5 separate regions of the Homo sapiens genome follow, and all the other regions are linked to region 2. Evidence: promoter capture Hi-C in 16 types of primary human blood cells and fetal thymus (Javierre and others, 2016). All regions are on one chromosome and are shown on one strand. The core of a region is centred on a gene start or on the middle of the fragment in contact, and the rest is flanking DNA. Distances in the headings are between cores, read along the strand shown. Region 1 overlaps CTDP1-DT (CTDP1 divergent transcript). Region 2 holds the start of NFATC1 (nuclear factor of activated T cells 1). Region 3 overlaps KCNG2 (potassium voltage-gated channel modifier subfamily G member 2). Region 4 overlaps KCNG2 (potassium voltage-gated channel modifier subfamily G member 2). Region 5 overlaps CTDP1 (CTD phosphatase subunit 1).

Region 1 (4,297 bases), core at 248-2,747, 260 kb before region 2:
AAACCAGAATGATGCATGTGACTTGCTTTATTGTGATACTCACTTTATTGCCGTGGTTTGGAACTGCAGCAGTAGCCGTTGCCAGTTTGTTGGGGTGAGCATCTTAGACATTTAAAGCAGCCATTTCCACGTGTTGTTTTTATTCTAATATTTTTAGTATATTGATAAACAACATAAGAACACATGTCCTTCTTTTAGAAAATCCAAAGTATAAAATTCACATTTATAGAACATAAAATAGAGCAGAATATTGGCCTTATAATAGCACAAACCTCCTGAAGTAGTGGTTCTTAAACTTCAATATACCTCACGATCGCACAGGGAGCTCTTTAAAATGTCCTGTGGACCTGAACGGATGAGCCCTCCCAGGAGATCAAGCAGAAGAGGCTCAAGATATCACTCCCAGAAACTCGCTCCCTCAGCAGGTAGTGGTGAGGGCAACATGAGCAGGGCCTTCCTCCACCTCACCTGGGCCGCAGCTGGGATGCGCGTGAGCCCGGACCTTCCTCCGTCTCTCCTGAGATGCAGCTGGGATGCACGTTGCTGGGGGAAAATGGCAAGGACGCCAGTGAAAAGCACCGGGTAAGAATCGGTGCATTAGGCCCAGGGTGTTAAAGTGTCCTGCTGGAAGGAAGACTCAATCCTCCCAGGGTATCACCTCTGCTGGCCTTGCTGCTTTCACGAGTGAAAGAAGCTGCTGGCGCCGACCTGTGGGCTCTCTGTGACTGACGTGGTTTCATTTTGGCATAACTTGGAGCCACTGCAGGCTGGGGCAAAACAAAAGCAGGTCTCTTCTGTCTCAGCGGGAGTTCCCTGCCAACCTTTTGTGGACAGAGCAGCAGGGAGTGCAGTCTTGCCGGCCTTCTCTGTGCAGGGCGAGGTCTGGGCCAGGAGGCTCTGCAGCTGAGACCAGGGCGGCCCTGTCTGGTCATCCCCACGCAGACATCCCACCCTCCCACTGGCCCACGGAGCAGCTACACCTGCCGCTCTTCTGTGGACCAAGGGCACGGTGGACGGCAATGCTGTTTCACTTGGGATCAGGCCAACTGAACAACGCGGTCCGGAGTCAGAGGACTGCCATTGTCATTTACCTCGCCTCCTTTTTCTCAGTATCACAAAGCCCTCCTGGACTCAGACCTCTCAAGGAGGAGTGTGGAACCCCCGTGTTCTCTGACCCCCGCCTCTGTTTCCTTGGCCGCCATCTCCATCCTGCCATCCCTCACAGCCTCCCTGGCCTAGCTTCTTTCACAGCCCCGGGTCCTCAGGCCTGGCCAGGTGCTGAGTGTGGCCACTTTTCTCCAGGGTTTCCAGCTTCCAGGCTCCCCATACAGTACAGAGCAGACTGTGTGTAACATATTGGGTGAGCTATGAAGCCTAACCCTACAATGAGCCCATCAGCTGACCTGAAATCCAGGGTGTCACCAACATCACAACAACCGCTGGAGAGCTCCCCATCCCACTCTGCCCTTTGCTTCCCCACCAGCAGATCCACCAGCCTCAACCTGGTGTTGATCATGTTCCTTTTCTATGGTGTTTTATTGCATGAGTATATATATATATATATATATATATACACACACACATACAAAGATATATATATACACACACACACATATACAAAGATATATATATATATACACATACAAAGATATTGTTTAGTTTGGCTTGTTTCTGAGGTTTATAAAAATAGCATCATATATATTCTTCAGTGATGGTTGTTGCACTAATCATTGTGTATCTGCATCTTCCTCTAAATGATTTTGTTTGGCTGTGGTTTGTTGATTGGGATTGCTGTATAATATCCTATTACGTGGCTGTAACAGAACGTGTTCATGCCATCTTTATACATGGACATTTGGTGTAACAGAATGTGTTCCTGAGTCTTTATACATGGACATTTAGTTGCTTTCATGGGAAGTACTGCAGCGAACATTCTGTATGATTCTTGGTGCACCTGAGTTAAAGCCTCCGGAGGGTGTGCGTGTGGAGGAGGGTGTGTGTGTGGAGGGGACTGCAGAATCATAGAGTGTGCAAATGTTCAGATGAATGAAGTGACAACCAATTTTTTGAAATGGTTGTTTTAATTTATAATCCCACCAGCAACAAAGGAGTTACTTTCCATCCACATCCTCAACAAGTCTATGTTATCCAACTTGGTCTCTGCCATGCCAAGTAAAAACCTGTGTTAAAATGAAAACTTGTAGTTCTGATTGTCAGTCTCCTAATGACCATATGGTTTAGCTTATTTTTCTATTTTTTATCTGCCATTTGAGTTTTTTTTCCTGTGAAATGCCTGTTCATGTTTGTTGCTCATTTTTCTGTTGGGGTGTTTGTCTTTTTATTACTGATTTGTAGTAGTTCCCTGTGGCTTCTGAAGGAAAGTATTTTATTGTTTATATGTTACTCATGTTGTCTACCAATTTTGTGTTTGTCTTTTTCATTTTCTTTCTGAGACACTTTGATGAACAGAAGCTGTTAATTTTAAGAATGCCTTCCCTAACATGAGGATTTTAAAGATATCTTCCTTTTATACTTTTAAAATGTATGAAATTTGCCCTTCACAGCTAACCATTTACTTAATAAGAAATGGATGTTTCATATATGATGTAAGGCAGGAATCCAATTCATTTTCCATATGAATAACCAATTGTCCCAGCACTATATATTGAAAAACTTCTGTTCTCTTTGATCTGTGATGTCATCTCTGATATATACCAGTCTCTGTTTTTTTTTTTTTTTTTTTTTTGAGACAGGGTCTTGCTTTGTTGCCCAGGCTGGAGTGCAGTGGCGTGATCTCAGTTCACTGCAACCTCTGCCTCCCTCATTCAAGTGATTCTCCTGCCTCAGCCTCCCGAGTAGCTGGGACTACAGGCATGTGCCACCAAGCCTGGCTAATTTTTTTGTATTTTTTAGTAGAGACGGGGTTTCACCATGTTGGCCAGGCTGGTCTCGAACTCCTGACCTCAGGTGATCCGCCCACCTTGGCCTCCCACAGTGCTGGGATGACAGGCGTGAGCCACGCACCGGCCAGGCCAGATTTTCTATTCTGGCTTCTACTGCGCTGTTGGAATTGCTAGAGCTCCGTAAGTCATGACATCTGGGAGGGCCAGGGCCCCACGATTCTTTAGAAGTTTCTTCAGAAGTTTTGTGGCTGTTCTTGGTATTTGTTGTTTCATAACTTGTAGAATTAATGTGTCAAGTTTATTGATAAAACCTGTTAGGGCCTTAACAGGGCTGTGTGGAATCTAAGTCGCTCTGAGGAGAACTGGCAGTTTTGTGATTTGAATTTTCCCATCTGTCAACTTGGTCTACCATTTCACTTGCTTAGGTCCATTTCAAAGTCCTCCAATAAGGTTTTATGATTTTCTCCGTATAGCACTTGCTCATTTTTGTTTTGTATTTATTCCTGGTTACTTTATTTTCTGTTGCTATTGCACACGATAGCTTTTTAAAAACTGCCGTTTTCCGGCTGATTGCTGCTGGCTTACAGAACTGCAGTGGATTTTCATGAACTGGCGCCACGCACTCACCTTACTAAGATCTTTTATTTCTAATAGTATATCGGTAGATTATTTGCAGTTTCCATGGTAAAAACACATATCATTTATGAATGATGATTGTTTTATGCTTCCCTTCCAAGTTTTGTAGCTTTTCTTTCTTTTCTTGCATTGCTGTGGGTAGTTTAGCCCCATAGTGCAGTGATTAACAGAATCAGTTATAGTGGGTCTCCTTGTCTTATTCCAGATGGTAAAGGGAAAGTTTCCGACATTTCTCCATCAGGAAAGATTTATGCTAAGGGTTTTTCTGGCCTGTCTTTTCTCAGGTTAAAGAAACTTCAGTTCATCCCTAGTCTTCTAAAAGATTTTTATGACTGTTTTAGAATAATATCAAATGGTTGTCTGCCTCTGTTGAGATGACCATATGGTTTTTCTCTTTCATTTTGTTAAGACAGGGAAATACATATATTTGCATATGTGTAATGTATACATTATTCTGTTTCTAAAACCAGATTCAGTTATGTATTTCTGGGATAAACCCAATTCCATAAGTAGATTTGTAGTTAGCTAATATTTGACTTAATCTTTTTATGGCCATGTTTACAAGTGAGAAACGCCTGTGTTCCTCTCTTGTGTTATCCTTGCTGAATTGGAAATCAAAGGTGTATTGGGCTTATAGAATGAGTTGGGAAGCTTTCCTCTTTTCTGTCTCTAATTCCATTTTTGAAAGCATTTTTATAAGTGTGGGATGACCTTTTTAAAATGTTTGATATAACTTTAAGCCTTTCTTGTCTTGGTAT
Region 2 (4,528 bases), core at 993-3,492:
AGGAACCACGACGCCTAATGAGCTTCCACCCAGATGGTCCCGAAACCCGAGGGACGCAGGGGAGGCGCCCAGGTCCTCAGATGGGCCAGGAATGGCCTCGTGGGGCCTACTCAGAAGGACTCAGAGTTCTTCCCGGTGGTCTCAGCGATGGCTGGTGTGGAAACCACGCGTGTCCCCATGCTGCCGGCCTGTGTGTATCAAGGACTAGATCACACTTTCCGGCTGGCCCAGTTCTGCAGCCCTCATAAAATACACCCATGTCGGTCGGGCGTCGCTGCCCGGCGCACTGCCTTGCAGCAGGGACCTTTTCGAGCTTATTTTCTTCAGTAGGAAACACGAAAACTAGCCACTGCCCCGTCGTGTTTTTTCCTTGCGTAAAAGAAAGGGGCTCCTTACTACAGGTCGGCCACCGGCTCTTCAGGTACAGAGATCTGAACTTGGAAAGACCTGCCTTTCTAAAGGGAGTGATAATGAACACTGCGGCGTAAGTGTCCCAGGATTTAAAACCGAAACTCCAACAAAAAAAAATTTTTTAAACTCTGCTACTAGCAAGAGCACATTGTGTAAAACACTGACACGGGACATGGTTTAAACATGTCAACATTTTCTAACATTGGGATGAAGTGGTGTCTACCTCCCGTCCCGTGAAGCGTCAGGGCACCGACCACACGGACCCCCCTCCGTGGAGCTCACGGCCCTGTGCTCAGCTCTGCTAAGACCAGCGAGTTTTCCAGAGCTGGGGGAGCCCGGTTCTCAAGCAAGCCCCGCAGTTATCAGGGTCGCGCAGGAAGCGGCAGCGCTCGGAAGGACGTCTGCCCTTATGAAGTACATATGTTGGCAGGTGTGCTGGCGCTCTTTAAATAAATTATATAAAATATTTCAGAGCTGGTAAGGAATTTGGAAAAGCGTCTTCCAATTTCCATTAGCATTGCAATCCCTAATCCCTAACTCGTATGCTCACACCTCTGCAAGGGTATTTTCAAAGCCACTTGCAGGAGCCCACCCGGCATCGCCAGGGGTGTGTGCCGGGGACGGGCTAAGGTGGGGGACTGGAATGTGAGATGCGCCGCAGGGGGGTCTCAGCGCCCCCCACACCGGGTTTCAGGGACCCACACTGTGCCATCTTTTTTTCACTATAAAGAAGCAGCTCGAAACTTGGCGGTTCCTTTTCAAACTTGCCTGAAACATCTTCTCTGGCTGGAACTCCTGCCTATAGGATTTCAAAATGGCTTAAATTCGGGGCTGTGCTGCGGCCGCGCTTTGGATCTTTTGGTCCTGCAGGTCCAGGAGCCGGCGTGACGGGCTCGGCCCTGGGGAATTCAGGGGCGCGGCGCGAGGGAGACGCCGCCACGAGCTCGGGGTGGGGGTGGGGGGCGCAGAACCCCCAAACCGCGATCTTGGCGCCAGAGGGTGGCTCTGCCTCGCTCAGGAAGACACGGGGCATCCTTCACTCCCAAGGAAGCCTCCCTTCCTCCCTCCCACGTGCCCTCTGTGGTCCTGACGGCCCAGCCTCGCCCGTCCCCAAATCGCCGGCCTGCGAGCCGCTTCCTCGGCGGGACCCGCGGCGGCCTCGCCTCGCGCCCTCAGCGCTGGGGCAGAGGAGACACCTATTGGCAGAAGGCGCGCTCGGAACCGGGCTGCTGGGAGCTGGGGGACGCCGTTCCCGGTCCGCGCCGCGCCCCTCCCTGGGCGCACAGACCCGGCCGACCTCGTTCTCTGGCCCGGACCCCTCCGTGCGGGCGACGGGGGCGGGGTCGGGGGGCGCGGCCCGGGCCGTGGGGGGCGCAGGGGTCCGGGGGCGGAGGCCGCGCGGGGCTTACCTTCCTCCGCTGACTTCATGGTGCCGCCGGCGCGCGGCGCGGGCCCCAAAGTTTCTCCTCTCCCGAAGACCGCAGCCGCAGGGCCAAGTGGAAACTTGGAAGGGACTGGAAAGCTGGTGCTTGGCATCCGCGCGGCGGCGGCGGGGAGTGGAGCGGCGGGCGGAGGCACAGGAGAAGCGGCCGCCCCGCGCTGCCGGGGTCGGGTCTCCGGGAAGACAGCCCTCGCCCCGGGCTCAGCGCCGCGCGCCCCGGAGGAAAGTCATCGAGGGGCGTGTGCGCGCGTGGCGGGGCCCGGCCGCGGCCCTAGGACCTGCGCGGTGGCTCCGAGCCCTGCCCGCGCCCCGGTGCCCGCGCCCTGCTGCTGGGATCTGGCGCGGCGACTCCGCCGGCGAGTTCGGAGCCTCTGAGTCTCGCTCTGACGCAGGGCCGCGCTCTGCCTCCTGCCTTTTTAAAGCTGGAAAACACCTCCCCCGCCTCCCCGCCGGCCCGGCGGCTCCCGCGCCCCCTCCCTGCCGTGACATCACGCCCCTGCTGCCCGGGCCCGCGCGGGGCCCCGGGGACGAGTCGCCGAGCGCCCGCCCCTCCCCGCGCCGCGGCAGCCGCTCGCCTGGGGGCAGGGGCGCAAGAGGCGGGGCGCGCACGGGGAGGGGGGGCGCACGGGGAGGGGGGGGCGCACGGGGAGGGGGGGCGCCCGGGGAGGGGGGCGCCCGGGGAGGGGGGGCGCACGGGGAGGGGGGCGCACGGGGAGGGGGGGCGCACGGGGAGGGGGGCGCACGGGGAGGGGCGCACGGGGAGGGGATGGGGGCGTAGGGGCGGGAACGGGGAATCCGGGGGCCGGGCAGGGGGGCGCTGGGGCTGGCGGGGGAAACGGGGGCGAACGGGCCAGACGGGACGCCTGAGTCCACGCGGGTGTCCGGAGGGAGCCCGGCCCTGCTGGAAAAGGGGCGGGGGGCGGGGGCCGGGGGCCGGGGAGGGGTGTCGAGAAAGCCCGGCATGCTGAAGTCATTATGTAAAATCGCAGGCTTCCCCCGCTGTGGAAATTTGGAAAAGCGCTTCACTGGCAGGCCCTAGAAAGGAAATTCCCATCCCGCTAAATTACTAACAGATTGCGTGGCCGTCCCGGGACGTCGAGTTATTGTCATTTTTATTCTGTAAATATCTGCTCGACCTAGACGGCCTGTGGCAGGGGCCGGCGTGGGGAGGCCCGGGGACGCGCTCACCTGCCCTAGCCGCCCGGAGGGGGCGTTTTATGGGCGCGACTGCGCGACTTCTGACGGGGGGAGGCCCCCCGGCCACTCACACTTTCCTCTCTTACGTCTCCCTGCGTCTCTTCGGGCGCAGCTCAGCTGCCAACACGGCACCGCATTTTCTTGTTGGCTTTGGATGGGGGGGGTTGGAGGTTAAAGTGTCTGGTGTGTAGAAACCATAAATCGATTGCACGACACCCTTATGTGATTTAAACTAAACCCAAAGGCTAAACTCGTGTCTGCTGCGGGGCCCAGGAGGTCCGCAGACCCCCAGGGATCACTGTGCCCCGTGGGTGCCCCCCACAAGCGCCTCCTCCCTGCCGGGGGAGGCGGTCGGGCGCTGCAGAGCCCGCGAAGGTGCGCGGCCAGAGCCCGTCCGTCCCGCGTCCCGAGGCCTGGCTCCATTCGGCCGCCCCGACTCAGCACAAATGGAACCCCGGCTTTTCCACCGCAGGCCTCGGCCTGGAGAGACGTGCCCGGATTAGCGGGGTGGTGGCCGCCTCGCTCCTGCGGCGTCGAGGCCATTTCCAGGGGTCTCTACCTGCGGGGGCCCCTACGGCGCCGAGCCAGGCGTGGCACGCGCCCCAGAGCACCGGGCGCCGGGAGGGGAGGAGGGGCCGCGGGAGGACGCCCAGGCCGGTGGGCGGGGGTCGGGGGGTCAGGGGGACTCCAGCGAGGCCGCGCCCCCACGCCCCTCCCCCTCCCCTCCCCTCCAAATCTTCCCGCCGCGAGTGTCCCCAGGCCTGGGGCCAGGATTTGGCGGGGAGAGTTTCCGTCCCCCCCGCCCCGCCCTCCTTCTCCCCACCTCCAGGACGGGGCGGGCGGAGACTCGCCGGGAGGAGGGAATCCCGAGGCCGGGTCTGGCGGGGCGCGCCCAGCCGGTCACGTGGGAGACTGAGCCCCTCGACCCCAGCCGCGGTCCTCGAGCCCGGGACCGACCTGGCGAGGCTGCCCTTGGCTCCTGAGGAGCCGGGGCCGGGGCGGGGGCGGCCGGCTCTTCCTCCTCCTCCCGCCCCTCCCCTTCCTCCGCTGCCGCCTCCTCCTCCTTCAATAAATAATTTTTTCACCCCATGCAGAAAAGCTCCCTTTTCCTGTCTGCTCTCAAAGCCGTCCTTATCCCCCCGCCCGGGTGACGGAATCCCGGGTCTGTTTCCCTCTGTTTAATGCCGTTGCCGGGACCACGGTGGCCGCGCGCCAGGCGCAGGGAGTTCCGGAGGCGGCGGCCCAGAGCGCGGCCAGCTCGCCCGGCCTCTGCGCCCCGGCCCGGCCTCTGCGGCCACCGCGGGCCCCCGGCTCTGCTCCCCGAGCGCCCTGCGCCCCTTTCCTCTTCCTCCTGCCTCCTCGTAGGTTTGTTTATAGCCGCTACTAGGGGAGACGTTACACGGGTTTTATTTTAGGATTGGTGATGACTAACAAAGTTAAAAGGAGCTTAGGACAGAAAACAAGACTATTTTTAGATGA
Region 3 (4,865 bases), core at 570-3,069, 460 kb before region 2:
TATTGACAAGTTGAAAATTCTATTGGAAATGCAAGGTAGCCAAAACAAACTTGACAAAGGACAAAGTTGGAGGGCTCAAACTTACTTGATATCATTTTATTACATGCCTCCACCTAAATCTTGTGTCGAAATGAGATCTGTTCGTTTAAAAGTGTGTGGTACCTACCCCGCAACCTTGTTCTTGCTTTCACCATGTAACGTGCCTGCTCCCCCTTTGCTTTCTGCCATAACTGGAAGCTTCCCAAAGCCTCCCCAGAAGCTTAGCAGACATTGGCACCGTGCCTCCTTTACAGCCTGAAGAACCATGAGCGAATTAAACCTCTTTTCTTTATAAATTACCCAGTCTCAGGTATTCCTTTATAGGAATGCGAACATGGACTAGTACATTACTACTTACTCAAAGTGAGTATAAAGCTACAGCAATCAAGAGTGTAGTACTAGTGTAAAGAGAGACATAAAAATCAATGGAGCAGAATTGAAAGTCCAGAAATGAACCCATAAATCTACCGTCAGTTCACTTTTGACAAGGTCGTCAAGACTATTCAATGGAGAAGTAATAGTGTCTCCAACAAACGGTTATCCACATGTAAAAAAATAAAGTTGGACCCTGCTATCGTTTGGATATTGGCCTCCAAATCTTATATTGGAATTTGATACCCAGTGTCGGAGGTGGGGCCTAATGGGAGGGGTTTGGGTCATGGGGGCTGATCCCTCATGCATGGCTGGGAGGTGTCTTCATGGTAATGAGTGAGTTCTCGCTCTATGAGTTCACTCCAGAGTTGGCTGTTGAACCCGCCTGGCACCCCTAGCCCTTGCTTCCTCCATCTCCGTGTGGTCTCTGCACACACCAGCTCCACGCCATCTTCTGCCATGACTGGAGCTGCCTGTGGCCTTCCTCAGATGCAGATGCCTGATCTTGAACTTTTCCAGACATCAGAATCATGATGACATCACAAGCTTCTTTTTAAAATGAATTACCTGGCTCCAGGTATTCCTTTATAGCAACACTGAATGGACCAAGATGCCTACATCACACTATATATAAAAACTAATTCAAACTAGATCAAAGACCTTAATGTAAGAGCTAAAACTCCAAAACACACGTAGAAGAAAACAGACTGTACATCTTCATGACCATGGATGAGACATTGGTTTCTGAAACAGAATGCCAAAAGCACAAGCAACAAAAGAAAAAAAGATAAATTGGACTTCATTCCAATGAAACTCTTGTATATCAAAGAACAGGACCAGGAAAATGAATGACAAGTAACGGTGGAAAAAAAAAGAGCTGCAAGTCCCGTATCTGATAAGAGTCCAGTATCCAGGATGTTAGGAACTCTTGGAGCTCAACAACAAATGACAAACAACCCAATTTAAACATGGGCAGAGGATCTGAATAGATATTTCTCCCGAGGAAGTATGTGAATGGCTAATAAGCACATGAAAGGTGATCAATATCATTAGTCATTATGGAAACGTAAATTAAAACTACAAGATACCACTTCACATCCACTAGGGTCGTTATAGTCAAACAAATGGAAAAAAAAAACCCAACAAGTGTTGGAAAGGATGTGGAAAAATTGGACCCCTGTACATTGCTGGTGGGAATATAAAATGTCACAGCCACAGTGGAAAACAGTCTGGCAGTTCCTCAAAAATTTAAACATGGAGTTCTCATGTGACCCGGTGACCCCACTCCGAGATGTACACTCAAGACAAATGAAAACATGTGTTCACACAAAAACTTGTACATAAATGTTCACAGTGGCATTACTAGAATAGCCAAAAACTGAAAACAACCCAAATTCCATCAACTGATAAACGGAGAAGCAAAATATGGGCCTCCATACAGGAATGTTATGCAGCCACAAACAGGAACCAAGTGCTGCTAATGCCACAGTGTGGATAAAACCTATGCTAAGAGAAAGAAGCCAGGCAGAAAAGGTCACATATACTGGGAATCCGTTTATATAAAATGTCCGAGCTGGGCACGGTGGCTCACGCCTGTAATCCCAGCATTTTGGGAGGCTGAGGCGGGTGGATCACTTGAGGTCAGGAGTTTGAGACCAGCTTGGTCAACATGGCGAAACCCTGTCTCTACCAAAAAATACAAAACTTAGCTGGGTGCAGTGGCGGGCGCCTGTAGTCCCAGCTACTCGGGAGGCTGAGGCAGGAGAATCACTTGAACCCGGGAGTCAGAGGTTGCAGTGAGACAAGATCACGCCACTGCGCTCCAGCCTGGGAGACAGAGCGAGACTGTCTCAAAAAATAAAATAAATAAAATAAAATATCCATGATAAGTAAATTCACAGAGACAGAAAGCCGGCAAGGGGGTTCCAGAGGATGGGAAGAGGGGCGATGGGGAGTGACTGCTAATGGCTCAGAGTTTCTTTTGGGACGATGAAAAGTCCTGGAATTAGATAGTGGTGATGGTTGCACAGCATTGTTAATACACTAAAAACCACAGAATCGTGCACATAAAAATGGTAAATATAACGTTAGGTGAATTTTATCTCCATTTATAAAAATCATTCTGAGTGAGTAGGTCTCGGGGGGATCCAGTAACACGCAAGCCTCATCACTGAGGCTTGAGAGCCGCTGCCTTCCACCGCCAACGTCAAGCCCTTTTTCTGGTTGTTGCTGACAACTGTATTCTAGGACCTCTGCCAAGTAAAGCTTAAACCCACCACTACGGCAAGTCAGGAACCAGAGAAGAGGGGGCGTGGTGGGTTTGCTCAGTGTAGCTCGCAGACTGCCCACTCGACCCAAGCGTGTGATTCATTAGAGATTTTAGGGGGAAAAAGTCAAATGAAAAGGAAGGAGTGAGGGAAAGACAGTCTAACAAAATGGCATTAGTTAGCTTGCCAGTAAGAGCTCAGCACCCCAGTGAAGAATTGCATAAGTCGCTTCTGAATGGGAGAAAGCTCCTTGGATGACTACTGCAATGGAGGCCAGGAGAGAAGCGCTCCATAATCACCGGGACCACGTGTGCTGTGACCTTCAGCGCCAAGTTCGCTGCATGAGAAGAGGGGGGACGTGGTCAGGATTCAAATGGTTATGTGTGCCTCTGTGCCCCAAGGTTCACTCAGTGAACATGTGATCCAAACCTCTGTGCCAGACACCCCATGCCAAGGACATGGCCTGAAGCATAGATCTGAGGAACACAGACAAGTCCGATTCATCCAATACCACACAGGGCTGTGGGGGCGGCTGTGGGGGCGGCTGTGGGGGGCAGGCAGAGAGGTCCACAAAGCAGGAGAGCTCCTCTGGGACGGAGGGCTGGCCCAGCAGAAGGGCTGGAGCAGGGCATCTGATTTTATTCAAAAGCAATCAGCTGCTTAGGTCATGGAAACCTGCTGCGGAGATTTCCCGAGCCCTACAAGTCAAGCGCTCTGGGGGATTAAAGGCTCTGAAGGTTCCAACCTGCCGGCCTCCCCAGGGCTCACAAGACGGAGCTTCCTAATGCAGCAGGAAGTCGTCTGAACGTGCTGCCTCAGAAACTGCCCGGAATAAGCAGCAGCTGTCCCAGTTTGTCGAAGAAGCCTAGCGTGCAAACCCAGCTGCTGGAGCCCTTTGTGGCGTGGCAGACGGCCCCGTGAGCTCCCCTGTCCTCTGCAGTCCCAGGCGGGGTTCGGAAGGGGCTGCGCCTGAGTTCTGGGCTGCCTGTGAGGCATGCCTTTGACAGGTGTGTGTCAACAGTCACCAGAGTCTCAGCTTTACCATCAGCAGAAGGCACAAGAACCCACCAAGAAGACCCTCTCTCTGAAATGGAAAATGATAATCCCAGTACGACTTGAGGTTTCTTGCCCTTCTGGCAGGTTCTGGGTTTACCTGGCTCTGTGAAGGTACAGGGTATTCTCTTTCAGGGAACCGGTGAAAACACAGCTGAGACCAGCGGCTTCGACCTGGAAAATGAACATCCAGTTTCACCCTAAGGGACAGAGAGTCACCTGCGTTATTACTGCGGAGCATCGTGGCTCTGACGCCCCACCCCTCCAGTCCCCGCGAGCACACACACCAGGCTTGCAGGACAGGTTGACTTCCCTTGTAGCCAAATCCATTGCATGCTCCATTTTTTTGTAGGCAGGGATGAATAATTATTAAAATAAGTGGATAATCAGGTATAACCTGGAACTTTTGCTGTAAAAGGCTTTCTTCCTCCCAGAACATACATTTTAAAATATGGACGTAAGTTATATGCTACATTAGAAATGTTCTAAAGCTAATTACTTGATTTAGGAGATTACAAAGTTACTTCTGAAAGCTCTGGAGTTCCTCCCCATTCTCTGCAAAACGTCAGAAAAAGAAAGACAACGCACAGCTCAATAGAAAAAATGGGCCAACTGACATAAAGTTCACATCAAAGGGGGAAAAGGCTTCCAACATATGAAAAAATGCTCAATTTCATTCATAAGAGCAAAAATAAGCATCTTGAATTGCCACAGGTATTAGACTAGATCAACCAGTTTGACGACACACTCTTGTCAAGAGTGTGGGGTCTGGTTCAGTGACGACAGAGGTGAACGGGAATGGCCGTCACAGCACGAGGGCAGAGGCTGAACTGATCTAAGGAAAGCAGGGGCCGTGCAGGGTCCCCTCCACGGAGGGTGATCGGGAAGGAAACCCACCAGCCAGTACCAGAAGGTTTCAAGGCCTCTCTGCTTGGCCAGGTCAAAAACAATGCTGTGTGTCTACGAGCCTAGCATGCACAGTGGGGTGAGGCTGGAATTTTGGTGGGTGATACAGCCAAGACATGATCACGCACAAAGGTGGTCGCAGGCCAGTGATACCCCTGAAACTGACAGAACCAAGCAGAGAACCAGTCAAAGCGGCAGTTCCCAGCAGTGGGGGTGATTCTGCCCCAG
Region 4 (4,455 bases), core at 591-3,090, 430 kb before region 2:
AAAGGATTATAATTGGTACATTGTTAAAACTGTTTTTGTCTCTGAAGTAGTTACTTGCATCAGTATTTTTCCTATGGAGCCACATGGAGAGACTTGGGTCCAGCCCACCAAGCTGCATTTCCAGAGCTGCGGCACTGGGTGGGCGGGTAATAAGCGGGGTTCCAGGGCCTGCATTCAGAAGAAGCGAAATCCAGGGGGGAGGCTGAGTCCCCGCTCTTCTCCCCGCGCTTCCCGCTCCATCCTGAGCCCCTCCTCTGCTGGCCTCTCAGACACTGGGACTCCAGGGCCTCTGCCACACCCTCCTTCCTCCAGGAACACAGGCTGCTGGAGGTCCTAAAAATTCCCAGCACCACAAGTTTGAGAGCCGCTGTGCTAAACTACCAGTCCCCAGGCCCTGCCCCACTGGTGGGGCCGAAACCCTGGCTGGGGCCAGATGACCTCTCCTACCTAAGATAGCATCTCACCTGGAACTCTGACCAAGGAACAGAACTCTTTAGAGGCACGATGCTGACACCGCCAGGGAAAACGAAAGGAGGCTTAGTTTGAAACCCTCACGGTTTCCTGCAGGGATCCCACCCACATCTCCTGCCCTGGGGGCTCCGGGGTGGACACAGGACCACTGAGGCCTGGAGGGTGTCGCTGGTCTGGCCCGAGCCCCAGCTCCATGACCATGTGGGGGCGCACCTGCTAAGCTTCAGTATCTGGGAGTCCCCAGCCTGTCCCCAGGGAGGCCTGAGGCTGTCACCACCCCATAGAGGAGCAACAGAGGCTGGCGCGGCCCGGCCCCTGCATCGCCGGGGACGCCACGTCCTCACAAGGCACCAAGCAGCAAAGCTCAGCGTCCTGAACAGAAAGCGGGCAGAAGCCAAGGCGAATTTCCTAGAAACTGTAATTAAACTTTTACATTTTAATAATTATAATTTTTAGTTGGTAATTTCTTTTTCAATCAATTTTATCAAACAAGTGATTAGTCACTCCCACACCTTCTTTCACTGAACGTAATGACGTAACGCGCCGAACTAACCTTCCGTGAGGAGCTGCTCACTCAGTTCTTTCACTGAACGTAATGACGTAACGCGCCGAACTAACCTTCCGTGAGGAGCTGCTCACTCAGTTCTTTCACTGGATGTAATGACGTAACGCGCCGAACTAACCTTCCGTGAGGAGCTGCTCACTCAGTTCTTTCACTGGATGTAATGACGTAACGCGCCGAATGTAATCTTCCGTGAGGAGCTGCTCACTCAGTTTTCACTGAACGTAATGACGTAACGCGCCGAACTTAACCTTCCGTGAGGAGCTGCTCACTCAGTTCTTTCACTGAACGTAATGACGTAACGCGCCGAATCTAACCTTCCGTGAGGAGCTGCTCACTCAGTTCTTTCACTGAACGTAATGACGTAACGCGCCGAATCTAACCTTCCGTGAGGAGCTGCTCGCTCAGTTGTGAAGCTTCGTGCGGTGGGCAGCTGGGCAGGCCTGGGAAGGGAGCAGAACGGGCGCCGTACCTGAAGCGCCTGGAGCCTGGCTCTGGAGGGGCCTCCACACACCTGCTTTCCCTGCAGCTCTGCCTGCCTCAGAAGGGAGCAGGACCCACCTTCCCAGAGCCAGGCCCTCGGTCCCCGTCTGAAGCGACCCTTCTCCCACGGAGGCCTCGCGCCTCAGATCACAGTTTCAGCTCGACTACCCGGGTTCCTGGCCTTGCCAACGGCCACAGAGCTCCCGGCCCTTCCTGTCGCCCACAGTGTGTCAGCGCCCGCTTCCTCCAAGGTCAGGGCGGCCGGCAGGGCACAGGCCCCGACGCCGAGAGCTTCCTCTTAAGCTGCAGCCTCCACCCAGGCCCACGTCTCTATGGGGGTCATGCCCTGGACACAGCGTTTCAAAGAAAGGGCAGGTCCCAGAGCGGCCGAGAGGGCGACAGGTGTCCGCGCTCCCACCTGCCGTCCATGGGCAGACGCATAAAGAAACTTCCGGAAGGAAGGCCACAGACAGGCTGACAGTGCACGGTCAGGTCAGGTGATTTTTACTTTCTTTTTTCTGTCCTTCTGTATTTTCCCCCAGACGATACAGGTAATTTTAGTAACTGGAAAAAGGAATAAAAACGATTCTAATTTTAGAGGGAAAATCACATCTGACGGGTTTTTACAGAAAGAAACTGAAGCCCTATGAAATGACAGCGTGATTGATCTACCTTCGTATTAATCCTTATTGACACTTCATCTCCTGAAGCTTGCGCCCCGTCAGTCAAGTTGATGTTCACCGACAGGGACTTGGTAAAACCTCCGTGGTTTCTGAGACTCCTCGCTGAGGGGAGCTTCTGTAACTCTCAGGCGTTAAAGCTATTTTTTATGAAGAGGCATTTCGTCAGCAAACAGCAGAAAAGGACAGGAAAGATATTTTTATGGACCCAGACATCAGCGCATTCTTCGTAAACTGACGGTAAACACGAGTCTGTGATGTGCTGCTTTGAAAACAAGGCTTATAGCTGTAGGATGACTTAGGGATATTTTCCCATTCTTCAAGTGTCTTCCTTTTTCTTTTTTAAAGCCACATTATTATATTCAAGAAATGTAACGTTTGAAACAGACTGAACAATCAGAGGAGACACTGTGCAGTCCTCTTTGCAAACACATTTGAAAACCCAGAGGAAGTGCAGATGTTCTCGGGAAACAGAGACACCAAAAACTGTCCCAGGAGAGTTAGAAACTTCAGCAGACCCATTTCCATTGAAGAAACAGAAAGTTACTACTGACTGTCCTATCAAAGCACTAAGCCCCGACAGGTTTACAGAGAATTCTCCCAAGATTATAAAGCCTAGATAGTCTCCATGCTCTACAAATTATTTCAGAACATTGAGAAGGAAGGAAAGCTCTCTAGTTCATTTTATGAAGTAAGCAAACACTGATATTTAAACCAAATATAATAAGAAGAAAGAAAACTTAAGTTCAATATCACTCATCAATACCAATGCAGAAATTCTAAACGGAATATTATTAAACAGAATTCAATGCCTCTTAAGAAAAAAAAATACTGCGACAAAGTAGAATTTGTTCCAGAAGGTGCAAAGTAGGTTCAGTGGTAGGAAATCCATTAACATCATGCACCATAATAATAAATTTAGGTAGAAAAGTCATGTAATCATCTCCATAGATACCAAGCAGCCTTTGATGAATACTCAGGGCGTTGATGGGTATTTCACCAGCACCGGCAGCCTGTGTTAAGTTCTAAAGCCGCTCTCTTAATGGAGAAACACTAGAGGCATTTCCATGGCAATCAGAAACAAGGATACCCACTACCTCTGATATATTTAACATTATACGAGAGGTATTAATGAATAAAACTAGACAGCAAAAATCAATCAGAAGCATAGAGCAGGTAAAGAAGGGGTGAAACCGTCTCTCTTTGCAGATAGGATCATCTTATACTTGGAAATCCCAGAGAATCAATGACAAAACTTATTTATTGAATAAAAAAATTCAGAAAAGTAGCAGGCTATAAAATCAACAGCCTTCCTATACACAAACAACAAAGAACACAATCATTGGAAAAGTCCATTTATGGCCAAGCACCGAGGCTCACGCCTGTAATCCCACACTTTGGGAGGCCAAGGTCGGGGGATCGCTTGAGTCCAGGAGTTCAAGATCAGTTTGGGCAAAATGGCGAAACCCTGTCTCTACAAAAAATACAAGTTACCCACATGTGGTGATGCCTGTAGTCCCAGCTACTTGGGAGGCTGAGAGGTGGGAGGATCATCTGAGCCTGGGGGGCGGAGGCTGCAGTGAGCCAAGATCGTGCCACTGCACTCCAGCCTGGGTGACAGAGTGAGATCTTGTCTCAAAAATTAAATTAAATTGATGAAAGAAAAAGTCCATTTACAGTAGGAAAAAAACATGTAGGAACAAATTTCACAAGGAATGTGTACTGTTTTTACAAGAACAAATTTAAAACACGAAAGTAAACATGAACAAATGGAAAGCGAGCCATGCTCCTGGACAGGAGACTTGGCGCTGTGGAGGTGGCTTCCTCTTGGTGTTAGCTCATCAGTTCCACTCAATCCCAGTAAAACAGGGTAAGCTATTTTATGGAGTTGGACATGTCGATACTAAGGTTCAAATGTGCATAAAGAGCTGGGCACACGTGGAAAAAGAAAAACAACAAGGGGAAAAACTCATATAGCATGAACTCTTAAACATCAGGGGGTGAAGGACCAAAAACCCCATCGAGAAATGGGGAAACACATGAACAGGCCATTCACAAAAGATAAAAATGACTCTCACACGTATGGAAAACATGTTCAAGCACACTCGTAATCAGAGAAGTGCAGATTAAAACAATACTGAGATACCATTTCTCACCCATGAGACTGGCAAAAATTTAAAAATCCTACCACAACCCCTGGCCTGGCTGTGAGCAAACAGCGCTCGACACGGGGCACAGCTCTCAGGAGGGAGGAATGTG
Region 5 (4,491 bases), core at 1,681-4,180, 300 kb before region 2:
GAATCAACGTCTGGTCCAAGTCCACCATGAGCACCAGCTTCCGGTTTCGGTGCAGTCGCTGCTGGTCTTCTCTTCCCAGCTGTTCAGCTTGCTACAATTAAAAAGAAACAAGAAATGACAAAGTCAGTATGTTTGCATCCAAGGTAAAACTCCATTTCATCGAGAAACACAAAACTATATCAATGTGTTCCCCTCCAGCCCCCCACGCTCCATGGACTGCGCCGTACAGGCCGAGAGGCAGGGCTGGGTCACCAACCTGGTCACGGCAACCTCGCTTGTGACCACAATTTTATAATTCAGTTAAATACATGAGCCAATGAAAACGGAGGGGGAAGGGAAACTGGTTGTTTCTATAAAAGCTGGATTCAACAGTATGGAGTGCTCAATAAAAGTGAACTGCAAAATTAATGAAGAAACCAAGTCGGCCGGCTGGGAGACGCTGGGTGGCCCAAGCTGGGCAGCAGAGACTGGTAAGGGCAATGCGCTCAGAATCTCCCGCGCTCAGAACCTTCCACGCTCAGCCTATTCTTGTGCCTCGAAGAGACCCGGGGGCCTGGCAACAGCGCATCGGGGTGTCCCTCCACGCGGGGCCCAGAGTGGAGCTCCTAACAAGGGCCCGGTCACCCCGGCATCAGGAGCCCGGCATGGGACACGGGATGTGACGCACCACGCTGCCTTTCTCACTGTAACTGGCCCTCACTCTTCACAACAAAATCCTGGTCCCGCTCAGGGGGGACCTCCTCCCGTGCCCATCCCCGAAGGGAAACGCACGGAAGGGCTGGCAGGTGCCAGAAAGATGGGGGGTACTTCCTCCTCCCTTCACCCTCAAACTTGCCAGCTTTGGTTTACGCATACACATTTTACATTTGTTTAAAGTTTGGTAATTCAGAAAACCCAGAATCCTGTATCTGGCATTTTGCTTTTCCCATAAAAAGATAGACTGAAATTGGTGTCCATCATTTAAAAGCACGAATTTACTAAAATCGTAACACTGGAAAGTGTTTTACCTATTTACAAAACTGTGCAGCCCTGAAAGTCTGTAAGATCACAAACTAGTTTTTCTCAGCTCCCAGAGCATTTTCACCCACGGGGTGAAGCGAGGTCGGGGAGACGGTGTCTGCCTCAAGCACAGGAGGTGCCCGGAGCCGCTGACCCACAGTGCCCCAGCAACTCCTGAAATACATAAACGAGGCGTAGCACTCGAAGATAAAAACCCATCTCACTCTTAACTGGGCACGTGAACACCTGCCCGTCCTCTCCACCCTGCGTACCCCCCATGGGCTCTCCTGTCGGCTACAAGGCAAACACTCCTGGGACCCCCAACCCGCCCCTGCATGTGCCCACTCTCCCGAGCCAGCTTCCCAATGGTGCCAGCAGCAGCCGCTCCTGTAGCCAACAAGGTGCTACCAACCACGTCCCCCCGCCCCTACCCCCGGCCACCGACTCCTCGCCATTATCTGCCCCAATATGCGCTTTGCCCTCCCGGGTCATCCAGCACATGCCTCGGCAGCGCGGCCACCTCCTGAGCTCCATGAGCAGCTGTCACATCCCTCCCCAGTTAGGACTTGGCTCAAGGGAACCCAGGCTGAGCCTGGCTGTTCACAGCTGCGGCGGCAGCACCTGGTGTTCCCGACACGCAGGTCACACAGCCTCGGGGCCCTGAGTCGCTTTTGCAGGCAGACTTGTCTGTGGAGAACCAAGGGCAACCGTCCCTGCTTCAGGAAGGCCGCAGTCCCATAAGTCATCCGTGTGATGAGGGGTTGTTTCAGTAACGACGATGACAACCACACGTCCGTGCTTCTGCAGCCACCCTCCTCCTGCAGCCGCCCTCCTCAGAGCACCACGCTTCCCCAACACGCCGCCACTGATGCCCGGCTCACCTCGGAGCTCACCATCAACTCCGGCACGCTGTGCACCATGGACACGGTCGCCGTGGACAGCGGCACCTGCTGCTTCCCGTTCTTACTCTGCAACCTGCAAGTGCAAGGACAGGTTCAGGGCTTTCAGCTGAGTCTCTGCGCACAGATGCACACTGGGCTCTAAGTGACAGGATTCTAGCTGATGTTTTAACGGACACACGCTGCTATCTTAGCACAGACTTGATTCTGTCGGCAAACGTGGAAACATTCTCCACAGACAGGAAAACTGGTGGAAACACTGAGCTCGTGGCCACACTCATGAACACACAGAGCCATAGTCCTTCATGAAAACAAACTGCAAAGTCACACAGAAGCAGAAACAGGCCCTCAACCATGAAAACGCAGAAAAAGTAGCTGCCGCACCTCCCACTTGGCATTAGAGGTAAAGCAGCCCCCAGCATGGGGCGCTCAGCGGCCCAGAGGGAGGGGCTGCTCCAGGCACTCAGCGATCTGCGTCTTCAGTCAGGAGAAAACAGGTCTCGGCCCTCCAGCATGCCCCCCCACCACACCTGAGAATGGCATGAGGCTGGGGTCACAGAGCAGGAAGGACTGCCTCCAGGGAAACCCATTGAGTGTGACTCGTATGGGGCCCAAGGGAGGCGTCTGCATCTGCCGCTGGGAAACCAAGGGCCTCACTGTGTTCCCAGCACAGCTTCTCGGACTCCCCGGAGGCCACCACCTCGAGCCCCAGCAGGCAGCGATCTCACTCTTCCGGATACTTACTGGGTGAGGTCTTGGCCACATTCAGCACACAGGCCTTTCATGACAACCGGGTGGCTGCATCCTTCCAACCTCACCAGAACCGCTCTACAAAAAAACACAAGGGGAACAACACTTTAAAATCTCTTGGTTTATCAAAAGAGCCCCCAAGTAAGAATTTTAAAATCTAGGTTTTTGTACCAATTCTACACTAACCCTTGCATAACTTTGTAGGCAGGTGACATCACCCCTTGAGGGCATTTCTTTGTCTATAAAATGAAAGGACTTTCCACCTACAGGTGTCTCTCATGAAAAATGACACGCCACCACACCTCACCACCCCCGTGCCACCCGTGGAACAGCTGAAAAAACTAAGGATGTCTGGTCCAAAGAGGAGACTTGGGGATAACATAAAGTTGTCTCAAAACACACTATTTATATGTGATCCTCTGACATTTCCGTTAGAGAATTTATAAAATCTAAAACTTTCATATCATTCCCAGTCTAGACAGAGGCTGATGCAACTACATTTTCCTGACAAAATGACTGTAATGTTCGTTTTATATAAACACAAACTGTTTTATTTGTCCAAACAGTGGTCTTCTGGCAGAAGCCATGGAAGAAGTGCTGAAATCTGAAGGCTATGAGACCAGAGGCCGCCTGGCACTCAGCGCCCGCCCCTAGGTGCCCTCAGCCCCCACACTCCCACCCCAGCCGGGCTGCTCCGACCGCCCCACCCTGCGAACATGAGACCACCCAGCACTCAGCGCCTGACCCTAGGTGTCCGCAGCCCCCACACTCCCACCCCAGCCGGGCTGCTCCGACCACCCCACCCCGTGGACATGAGACCGCCCAGCACTCAGCGCCCACCCCTAGGTGCCTGTAGCCCCCACACTCCCATCCCAGCCGGGCTGCTCCGACCACCGCGCCCCGCGGACACGAGGCTGCCCGGCACTCAGTGTCCCTAGGAGCTCGCAACCCCCACACTCCCGTCCCAGCTGGGCTGCTCCGACCACCCCACCCCGTGGACATGAGACCGCCCAGCACTCAGCGCCCACCCCTAGGTGCCTGTAGCCCCCACACTCCCATCCCAGCCGGGCTGCTCCGACCACCCTGCCCTGCAGACATGAGGCCGCCCAGCACTCAGCACCCGCCCCTAGGTGCTCACAGCCCCCACACTCCCGTCCCAGCCGGGCTGCTCCGACCACCCTGACCCGCGGACATGAGACAGCCACCCAAGCTGCATCTGTCAATGGGACCTTTCCAGGCGGGATGCCCCATGGCCCACCAAGACCCCCAGCCATGTCATCGAGAGGGCGCAAGGATCAGGCCACAGGCGGAAACAAGGCGGAGCCACATCCTCCATGCCCACTGTGCCATGGCAGGCTGTGCTGGGAGACTGGGAGGGGCGGGTCTGCAGCCTGCATCCTGCAGGGGAGCGGAGGGGCGGGTCTGTAGCCTGCATCCTTCAGGGAGACTCGGAGGGGCGGGTCTGTAGCCAGCATCCTGCAGGGAGAATGGGAGGGGCGGGTCTGTAGCCTGGAGGGGAGTGGAGGGGAGTTCTTCCTGGGGAGGAGGATGGGCGTGTGCGGATCACCCTGGAGGAGGAACGGTGCTGAGGACACACGGTGCGGGGCTCCGAGCCCTCGGGGATGGAGTGGGCTGCCGGTGACTATCAAGAATCTGAGCTCCTCCGGGTCCTGGGCCTGTGCGTACACAGTGCATGTGCAACACAAATGGATTCCGCGTTTACTCACGTCCCATCCCCAAGACATCTCGTCATGTATACGTGCAAATATTCCAAAATCCAAAAAAACCCAGAAATCCAAAACACTTCTGTTTCCAAGCAGTTTGGATATGGGAGACTCAACCT

The links. The method cuts DNA at HindIII sites, captures the fragments that hold promoters and counts their contacts. A CHiCAGO score of 5 or more calls a contact.
Region 1: a contact is called between a fragment that was not itself captured here and the fragment with the promoter of NFATC1 in region 2, in 16 of 17 cell types (total CD4 T cells, M1 macrophages, non-activated CD4 T cells and 13 more). The highest score is 12.3, in total CD4 T cells.
Region 3: a contact is called between a fragment that was not itself captured here and the fragment with the promoter of NFATC1 in region 2, in 1 of 17 cell types (monocytes). The highest score is 6.0, in monocytes.
Region 4: a contact is called between a fragment that was not itself captured here and the fragment with the promoter of NFATC1 in region 2, in 1 of 17 cell types (monocytes). The highest score is 5.0, in monocytes.
Region 5: a contact is called between a fragment that was not itself captured here and the fragment with the promoter of NFATC1 in region 2, in 4 of 17 cell types (fetal thymus, total CD4 T cells, total CD8 T cells and 1 more). The highest score is 5.4, in fetal thymus.

Annotation. Positions count from the first base shown.
Region 1 is chr18:79,654,017-79,658,313 of GRCh38, reverse strand. All of the region lies in intron 2 of CTDP1-DT (CTDP1 divergent transcript), which reads left to right. Among named protein-coding and RNA genes, the nearest start is that of CTDP1-DT, 24 kb to the left of the region's middle. RefSeq lists enhancers at 260-795, 796-1,331. The HindIII fragment of the contact is 5,390 bases long and covers 1-4,192 here.
Region 2 is chr18:79,393,644-79,398,171 of GRCh38, reverse strand. NFATC1 (nuclear factor of activated T cells 1) reads right to left here and starts at 2,242. Exons shown (of 10, transcript NM_001278669.2): 1 at 1,821-2,242. The coding sequence starts at 1,947. RefSeq lists silencers at 1,547-1,646, 2,007-2,406, 3,832-4,121 and enhancers at 1,303-1,850, 3,492-3,611, 4,316-4,528. The HindIII fragment of the contact is 8,960 bases long and covers 1-4,528 here.
Region 3 is chr18:79,855,419-79,860,283 of GRCh38, reverse strand. It overlaps KCNG2 (potassium voltage-gated channel modifier subfamily G member 2), which reads right to left. Exons shown (of 4, transcript NM_012283.2): 2 at 3,832-3,905. Among named protein-coding and RNA genes, the nearest start is that of KCNG2, 60 kb to the right of the region's middle. RefSeq lists enhancers at 3,370-3,499, 3,281-3,575 and a silencer at 3,281-3,575. The HindIII fragment of the contact is 1,719 bases long and covers 960-2,678 here.
Region 4 is chr18:79,823,399-79,827,853 of GRCh38, reverse strand. All of the region lies in intron 1 of KCNG2 (potassium voltage-gated channel modifier subfamily G member 2), which reads right to left. Among named protein-coding and RNA genes, the nearest start is that of KCNG2, 28 kb to the right of the region's middle. RefSeq lists an enhancer at 680-1,879. The HindIII fragment of the contact is 777 bases long and covers 1,452-2,228 here.
Region 5 is chr18:79,693,460-79,697,950 of GRCh38, reverse strand. It overlaps CTDP1 (CTD phosphatase subunit 1), which reads right to left. Exons shown (of 13, transcript NM_004715.5): 2 at 2,643-2,726; 3 at 1,881-1,974; 4 at 1-91. Among named protein-coding and RNA genes, the nearest start is that of CTDP1, 16 kb to the right of the region's middle. RefSeq lists an enhancer at 1-148. The HindIII fragment of the contact is 7,815 bases long and covers 1-4,491 here.